3 separate regions of the Homo sapiens genome follow, and regions 2 and 3 are each linked to region 1. Evidence: promoter capture Hi-C in 16 types of primary human blood cells and fetal thymus (Javierre and others, 2016). All regions are on one chromosome and are shown on one strand. The core of a region is centred on a gene start or on the middle of the fragment in contact, and the rest is flanking DNA. Distances in the headings are between cores, read along the strand shown. Region 1 holds the start of WFDC5 (WAP four-disulfide core domain 5). Region 2 has its middle 7.6 kb from the start of WFDC11. Region 3 has its middle 19 kb from the start of WFDC3.

Region 1 (2,794 bases), core at 148-2,647:
TTTGCTGTAATAGTTGGTAAAGTGAATCTTTCTGATTTCAAATACTTGCACTCATGCACTTGCTAATCTGGCCTTGTCTAAGTCATTCTCTGGTCTCTCAGCTCCTTCCTATGTTGGGGGTGCATTGTCCTGTACAGTCCTGGGTTTTTGCTGTAATAGTTGGTAAGGTGAATCTTTCTGATTTCAAATACTTGCATTCAAATGCCACATTTGGCACTAACTCAGAGTCAGTCTTTGACCTTGTTAAGTGGTTCCCCGCTATGCCTCAATTTTCCTCATCTGCAAAATGGGGATGAAAATAGTCCTGTCCTCACAGCACCTTGTCGAGGAGTTACGTGATGATGGTGCATGAATCACAGCCAACACAGGGTCCAGCCTTGGAGCTCACCAGTGTACTTCCTTCCTCAGCCTGTCCCCATTACTGTCCCCTTTCTTTAAGGCAGGGCAAGGGTTGCACAGGTGAATGTAGGTTGGAGTGTTCCAGCCCCAGAAAAGGACGCAGGTGGAGGCCTCACCCAGATCAGGAGTCACCTGTCTAGCCACTCAGCAGCCCTCCCTCACCTGTCAGCAGGCCAGCCCCAGCCTTGTCAGGGGTGGGAATGGGGACAGGAGGTTGGGGGCGATGAGAGTTAGAGACAGAGCTTCCTCCCCACAAAGCCCAGATCCCAGAAGCCACACCCTCTCCTCAATTCCCAAGTCCCTTCCACAGATGGGGTGGTGGACCCACTGACCCAGTCACACCACAGCCCAGCAGGCACAGACAGGGTCCCTCCCCACACCTGAAGGCACAGAGACACACATGGACAGGCACCAAGCTCAGACACATGCGTGCAGCCATTCCTAAGTGTACGTGTGCAGACAGAGCTTTGCACAGACAAGCAGACGCAAAGACACATGTCTACACAGACACAGGCACATGCATTCCCCGCCCTGCCACCCCCTGACATATAGACAGGCACAGACAAGCACCGAGAAACTGGCAGAAAAGACACTTACAGATACCAACACAGGCAGGTGGACAGGCACAAATGTACACACATAAAAACACAGGCTTCTGAAAGCACTAAGAATCAGGCATCCACACATACACACACGCACGCACGCACACACACACGCGCACACACACCCCACAGGGCATTACCTGCCTTCCCCCAAACCCTTACTCTCCCTAGAGAAGTAGAGACAATCTGGTCCCCCCAGCAGAGGGATTTCCCGCACTCACCTCCCTTCTTCCTGCCAAAGACAGCAGGCAGCTGACTCCCCACAGCCAGGAGGGCCCCCAGGAGGAGAAGGCTCTGGGTCCTCATATTTCTGCTGCCGGCTCAGGGCCCAGGGCCCCCCAGATTAACACCTGCAGCCTCAGGGAAGCCAGAGAAACTTAGTCAGGAGAGGAAAGAGAGGGGGTGTGGAGTGACACCGTGCCTGCTTCATCTTGGCCCCACCCCCTGAGGGCCCGAGGACTCAGTGCAAGGGATGCTGTCACAATAGCTGAAGATAGGGTGGCGGCACATCCTGCATGTGGGGGACTCAGATCCAGTCTTGCCTGTATCGGTGACTTGGGCTGTGATCTTGGGCAAGTCTTGTCTCTCTGGGCTTCAGTTTTTTCATCTGTACACAGGGTGAAGGTTGTTGAGGCAGATGCTTGCTATCCTGGCTCTCAAAGATGTTGAAGCCCCAGCGATGTCTAGGCAGCGGGTAGAGGTCAGCTTTGAATAGCAAAGGAGTGGGGGTTTGCAGAGTTCTGGATGCCTAGGAAGGGAGAAGGCATTAGGGTTAGGCCAGAGCTTGCAGCCAAAGAAGGCTGGCCCAGGCTGGCATAATGAGTGAGGCCAGCCCTGGCCTCTCCTCTTGGGTCCTGTGGATGGGAGAAAGACCACCCCGCCTTTGGTGAGATCACCAGTGGCTTCTGATAGAACTGCCCTCTTCCTGGGGCTGGCTTGGCTGTTGAGGGTGGGGGAGCATGGCTTTTGGCTTGGCTAAGTTTGCTGGTCACAGCAGATGTGTGGCCACTGGAACCTCTTCTCTGGCCCTAAGGGATCCTGAGCAAAAAAATGTCATCTCATCCAGGGACCCCCACCTTAGATTTCGTATCTCTGATGTTGCCTCCTGCATTTGGTAGAAGAGAGGGAGCTGAGACTTGGCATCCTAAGGGACATCCTAAACAGAAACTCCATCGAAGTACATTCTCTCAGCCTTCTCATTTGAAAGACGAGGAAACTGTGAGATAGAGATGAGAGGGGACTGGCCCAAGGACACGCAGCTAATTCCTGACTAAGCTGGGACTTCCCACTGTGGCCTCCCCATCACCCTCATTCAGTTCCTGGGTTTTAAAAGCAGGTCAATACCTCATCTGATCCTGAGAAAGGAGGGTGATATTACAGGGCTTGTCTCACTTACCCATTCCAATCCAGGACAGCCCTGGCAGCAGGAAGTTCTTCCTTGGGTTTAATGTGAATCTCTCGTGCTGTCTTCTAAGCTATTAAGATAGGAGAGGCTCTGTCTTCTATGATCTGATGTTGCTTTTGGAATGCTGGCACCTCCTTGGAAGCTTTATTTTGGAGGACAAATATATGAGCCCTTCCTTCCTCCCTCCCTCCACCCCTCCCTCCCTCCACCCCTCCCTCCCTCTTTCTTTCTTTTTTCTTTTCTTTCTTTCTTTTTCTTTTTCTTTCTTTCCTTTTTTCATTTCTTTCTTCTTTCTTTCCTTCTTTCCTCTCTTTCTTTCCTTTCTCTTTCTTTCTTTTCTTTCTTTCTTCTTTCTTTTTCTTTCTTCTTTCTTTCCTTTTTTATTTCT
Region 2 (2,700 bases), core at 101-2,600, 560 kb after region 1:
AATGTTGATCTGAGCTTTGTCAGCAACAAGTAAAAATAAATAAATAAGAAATGTTGAGCATTTTTTCATATATCTGTTGGACATTTGTATGTCTTCTTTTGAGAAATGTCTACTCAGGTCCTCTGCCCATTTTTTAAATAGGGTTGTTTTCTTGTTTTGAGTAGTTTGAGTTTCTTACATATTTTGGATATTGGCTCCTTATCTGATTTATCATCCAAATAGTTTCTCCCAATATGTGGGTTATGTCTTCACTGTGTTGTTTCCTTTGCTGGGCAGAAGGCTTTTAGTTTAATACAATATTATTCCCCTATTTTTGCTTTTGTTGCTTGTGCTTTGGGAGATCATATCCAATAAATCACTGCCAAGACCAATGTCATGAAGCTTTCCCACTATGTTTTCTTCTAGTAGTTTTTACGGTTTCATGTCTTACATTTAAGTCTATGATTCATTTTGAGTTCATTCTAGTATAAGAGGTAAGATAAGGGTCCACTTTCATTCTTCTGCATATAGATATAGTTTTGCCCACACCAATTATTGAAGGTACTGTCCTTTCCCCATTGTGTGTTCTTTGGGCCCTTGTTGAAAATCAATTGACCATAAACGTATGGGCTTATTTCTGAAATCTCTAACCTATTCCATCAGTTGCTGTGTCTGTTTTTATGCCAATAGCATGCTGTTTTTATTACTATACCTTTGTAATACATTTTGAAATCCAGCAGTGTGATACCTCTATCTTTTTCTTTTTGGTAAATTTGTCTTTGGCTATTCTGGGTTTCCAGTGGTTCCATGTGAAGCTTCAGATTATTTCTTTCTGTTTCTGTGAAGAATGACATTAGAATGTTAATATGGATTGCATTGAATCTGTACATCACTTTGGATAGTATGGACATTTTGCCAATTTTGATTCTTCCAGTCCGTGAACATAGGATAGCTGTCTGTAAGTTCTTCTAGTAAAAACACACTTTACTGACAAACTGGATTTCTCTGGTTGTTTTTTTGGTTTCTTGGCTCCTTCAGCATTTGGGGGACACTTTGCACATATGGCCCTCACATGAAACAGTCCTTTTAGCATTTTTTATAAGACAAGCTTAGTGTTGGTGAATTCTCTCAGCTTTTGCTTGTTTGGGAAAGTCTCTAATCTCTCCTTCATGTTTGAAGGGTAGATTTTTGAGGGTTAGCAGGTTTTTCCTTCAGCACTTTGAATATAACATCTCACTGTCATCTGGTCATCAGGGTTTCTATGAAAGCCATATTGAGGCTTCATCTAATGTAATATGTTTCTTTTTTCTTGCTACTTTGAGTATTCTTTCTGTCTTTGATTTTTGATAATTTTATTATTATATGCCTTGTGGATTTCCTGTTTGGGTTGAATTTCATTGGTGACTTCTGAGCTTCCTGCACCTGGATGCTGTCATCTTTCTCCAGATTTGGGAAATTTTCAGCCATTATTTCTTTAAATATGCTTTGTGGGCCCTTTCTCTCTTGTCTTCTCTAGGAATTCTAATTATGCAGAGGTTAATTTGCCTGATGATGTCCCATAGTTCTTGTAGACCTTCTTCATTCTTTTTTTTCTCTTTTTGTTCCTCTGATTGGTGATTTCAAATGTTCTGTCTTCAAGCTTGCTAATTCCTCTGTTTGCTCAAGTCTGCTGTTGAAGCTTTATAATGAGTTTTTCAGTTCAATTATTTTATTCTTTATTACTAGTATTTCTATTTCTATTGCTTGGTTTTTTTTTTCATTGTTTCTATAAATCTTCAATTCTTCTGGGACCATTCCTGGAGCTTTGTTGATTTCTTTTGATGGTATTGAATATTTCTGAGTTTTCACAAGCCTTGTATCTTTACATGGATGCCTGCATATTTGAGGCGACTGCCAACTCTTCCAGCTTTTGCAGGTGCTCTTTCATGGTGTTAGACCTTTACTTCTTAGTATTAGAACTTAAACACTGGCCTGTTGTTGCTTTACACTGTAGAGAGGGCTTAATAGTGAGCATCAGAACTAAAACATTGCACTGGACCTAACTCATTGCCCTGTCATTGTTTCCCAGTGTAAGGAAAACTTATAGTGAGCACCACAGCTTAAATGCCCTGGAACAATATTGCTGCCCTACTATTGTTTCTCAGTGTGGGAAAAACTTAGGTGGGTACTGAAAATCTTGACCTTTTAGTTGTTTCTGGGCCAGGGAAAAGCTTCACATGTGCACCTGGGCTTTGTGGATTTGGGCCTTCCCATAAATTTTGTCCCCTACAATACTCTGGCCCCCCCACCAGTCTCTTCAATATGGCATCCCCACTGATCAAAGCACTGAACAATCACCAAGATCCACATGCCAGTTGCTGCAATCAGTGACCTACTCTTTGTCCCCAATTCACCCCAGGTTTTTCAGCCCTCTTGGTTCTCTAGTGGGATGAAACTGGAGTGGACTTACCATTAAGATTCCTAGACAAGTGGGAAGATCAAATATCCACCTCCAATTCCTTCTTCTCATCTCAGCAACTGTGGGTCTAGGGAAGTTCTCTGTGAGTGGTATTATTATGGCCTGGGAGAGAGGGTGGAACAGGCTGAAATGACCATTTCTCTTACCTGTCACTGCTTCTCTCAATTCTATGAGCCCAGGGGGTTTCTCTGCTTCTCAAGTTCTGGTGTATTCAGGGTGGCATTCTTGTCTTTGAATAGTTTTTCATTTTATTTTTGTGTCAG
Region 3 (2,742 bases), core at 176-2,675, 660 kb after region 1:
CTTCTTTGTTTATATTGCTGAATCTGTGGGAAGCTGGGCTTCTCCACACAATCCCTTGAGGAGAAGGCTTAACTTGTATATGAAAGGAAAGACACCTCTCCCAACTCAAGAGCAACCCACTGCCAGGATACGCTCTGGGCCTCCTGCCTTCCTCACCCCACTTACACGCCTTACCAATAACATCATGCCCCCACGGGAGCAGTGGAGGCTGCAGGGGCCCATGGTATTGCTGGGGCCAAGGGCACATATGGAGTCTGAGATTTCTACAACCAGATGGTCAAGAAGCAGGGTGGAGAAGGGAGGAGCTGCGTGGTTCTGGTCAAAGAACAAGTCTTTCTCAGCCTACACTGGAGCCCCAGACATTCCTGCCCACGATGAGGAAGCTGAGGAGCAGGGCGGGGGAGAAGGGTGGCTTTTCAACCTGGTCAGAGGCTAATTTCGGGGTGCAAGGTGAGAGAGTAGGATCACGGTCCACTGAGACCTGCTCCTGGGTCATTTCCACCCCAGGACCAAGGCTGAAATGGACTTAAACCCTGAGGAAGGAAAGGTTCTAATGGCTTCTTTAGTTCAGGGTCCAACAGTAGAGAAAGCTGCCCAGAAAGACCTGGGGGTGGGAATTTGGCCCCAGCTCAGCCTTTAACCGCCAGCTTTCAAATTTAACCCTTCAGCACTCTCTCTCATCTCTATCTCTCTCTCATCTCCATCTCTATCTCTCTATACATCTATCTATCTCTCTATCTCTCTCGACGTTGCTACCTGTAAGCAGGTCAGCAGCTCCCTCTGGAAAGGGTGAGCCTCCAGACGAGGAGGAAAGGTCTGCAAGGAGCAGCTCTCCCATTGCTCAGCCTGAGCTGTGCCTGGGGCTCACACCTGTCTCTCCAGTCCCACTCTCCACCCTGACAGAACATCATTCTGCAATATGAGAGGATTCCCAGACTGTTGTTTTTCATTGAAAGTTCTACCATACTGATGATTTTTTTTTTTTTTTTTTTTTTTGAGATGGAGTTTCGCTCTTGTCGCCCGGGCTGGAGTGCAATGGCAGGATCTCGGCTCACTTGGAACTTCCACCTCCCAGGTTCAAGCAATTCTCCTGCCTCAGCCTCCTGAGTAGCTGGGATTACAGGCGTGCACCACCAAGCCTGGCTAATTTTTGTATTTTTAGTAGAGACGGGGTTTCACCATGTTGGTCAGGCTGGTCTTGAACTCCTGACCTCAAGTGATCTGCCTGCCTTGGCCTCCGAAAATGTTGGGATTACAGGCGTGAGCCACTGCACCCGACCACTGCTGAGTGTCTGTGCCTTCTCCCCCTTGTTTTCATCCTGGCATGTGAAATTCTGGTTTCTACCTGGTTCAGAACATTTATCTCTTTTCAGTACAGTAGACATGTCAATGTTGCCTGATCTGAAAAAGAGTGGCTGGCATGAACCTCGCAGTGGCCAACCCAGAAACATCCATGACTCCAGGATCATGTTGCAGGGAACTGGGAAGGGCCAGTGTCTGTGTGATGGGCTGCTGAACATTTTGGCAGATCCCTCTTCCACTGTTTTATCATTTTGTTGTTTATTTAAAAACTCGAATACATGCACATAGTTTTTTTAAAAATCATTATATCATCACACCACCACACCCGGCTAATTTTTGTATTTTTAGTAGAGACAGGGTTTCTACTAAAACAGTCAAAGGCACAGCTACTCAGAAGGCTGAGGTAAGAGAATTGCTTGAGCCCAGGAGGCGGAGGTTGCAGTGAGCGGAGATCGTGCCACTGCACTCCAGCCTAGGCGACAGAGCAAGATTTCGTCTCAAAAAAAAAAAAAGATAACTAGTTAAATAAATTACCCATTTCATAGAGTTCTATTAAAAGAATATACGTGATGACATGAAAGATCTCCAAGATACACAATATAATCCATTTCATATAAATAAAAAACATAACTTTAAAAAATTATCTTGGTCCCAAGAACCTAGGGATATCCCCTCCCTAAAATAAAGCTACCTGGAGGGGACAAACTGCCTGTCTTGGAGCCAAGGGCTGGCCCTCAAGGAAGGAGGTCCAAGGTGGGAACATTCCAACATCTATAAGAAACTAGCCACTCGGCTGGGCACAGTGGCTGACGCCTGTAATCCCAGCACTTTGGGAGGCCAAGGCAGGCAGATCACCTGAGGTCAGGAGTTCAAGATAAGCCTGGCCATCATGGTGAAACCCCGTCTCTACTAAAAATACAAAAATTAGTCAGGCATGGTAGCGCGCCTGTAGTCCCAGCTACTCGGGAGACTGAGGCAGGAGAATCACTTGAACCTGAGAGGCAGAGGTTGCAGTGAGCCAAGATTGCGCCACTGCACTCCAGCCTGGGCAACAGAGTGAGACTACATCTCAAAAAAAAAAAAAAACTAGCCACTCACCCTTGTTCCACCCTCAACCCACATTCTCCAATAAAAGAAAGAAGGTCAGCAGGTCTAAAAGAGACTGACCTCCACCCCCACCAGGGCTTGAGAAAGACATCTATGGCAAGTCACTCTCAGTTTAGTTTCCACCCTCAACCCACATTCTCCAATAAAAGAAAGAAGGTCAGCAGGTCTAAAAGAGACTGACCTCCACCCCCACCAGGGCTTGAGAAAGACATCTATGGCAAGTCACTCTCAGTTTAGTTTCCACCCATCTCTTCCCTAGCCACACCCAACCAAAACCCATTTTCAGTGTCCTCACAAAGAATGGATTACCCATCTGTCCTAAATATGTAAATC

The links. Contacts are between HindIII fragments. The CHiCAGO score rates a contact against its expected background, and 5 or more counts as called.
Region 2: a fragment that was not itself captured here is called in contact with the fragment with the promoter of WFDC5 in region 1 in 1 of 17 cell types (M1 macrophages); the score reaches 5.3 in M1 macrophages.
Region 3: a contact is called between a fragment that was not itself captured here and the fragment with the promoter of WFDC5 in region 1, in 3 of 17 cell types (total B cells, naive B cells and endothelial precursors). The highest score is 6.5, in total B cells.

Annotation. Positions count from the first base shown.
Region 1 is chr20:45,113,777-45,116,570 of GRCh38, forward strand. WFDC5 (WAP four-disulfide core domain 5) reads right to left here and starts at 1,398. Exons shown (of 4, transcript NM_145652.4): 1 at 1,223-1,398. The coding sequence starts at 1,307. RefSeq lists enhancers at 834-1,335, 1,336-1,835. The HindIII fragment of the contact is 2,929 bases long and covers 1-2,546 here.
Region 2 is chr20:45,676,454-45,679,153 of GRCh38, forward strand. No RefSeq gene overlaps it. Among named protein-coding and RNA genes, the nearest start is that of WFDC11, 7.6 kb to the left of the region's middle. The HindIII fragment of the contact is 531 bases long and covers 1,086-1,616 here.
Region 3 is chr20:45,771,395-45,774,136 of GRCh38, forward strand. No RefSeq gene overlaps it. Among named protein-coding and RNA genes, the nearest start is that of WFDC3, 19 kb to the right of the region's middle. RefSeq lists enhancers at 1-266, 267-859. The HindIII fragment of the contact is 3,130 bases long and covers 1-2,742 here.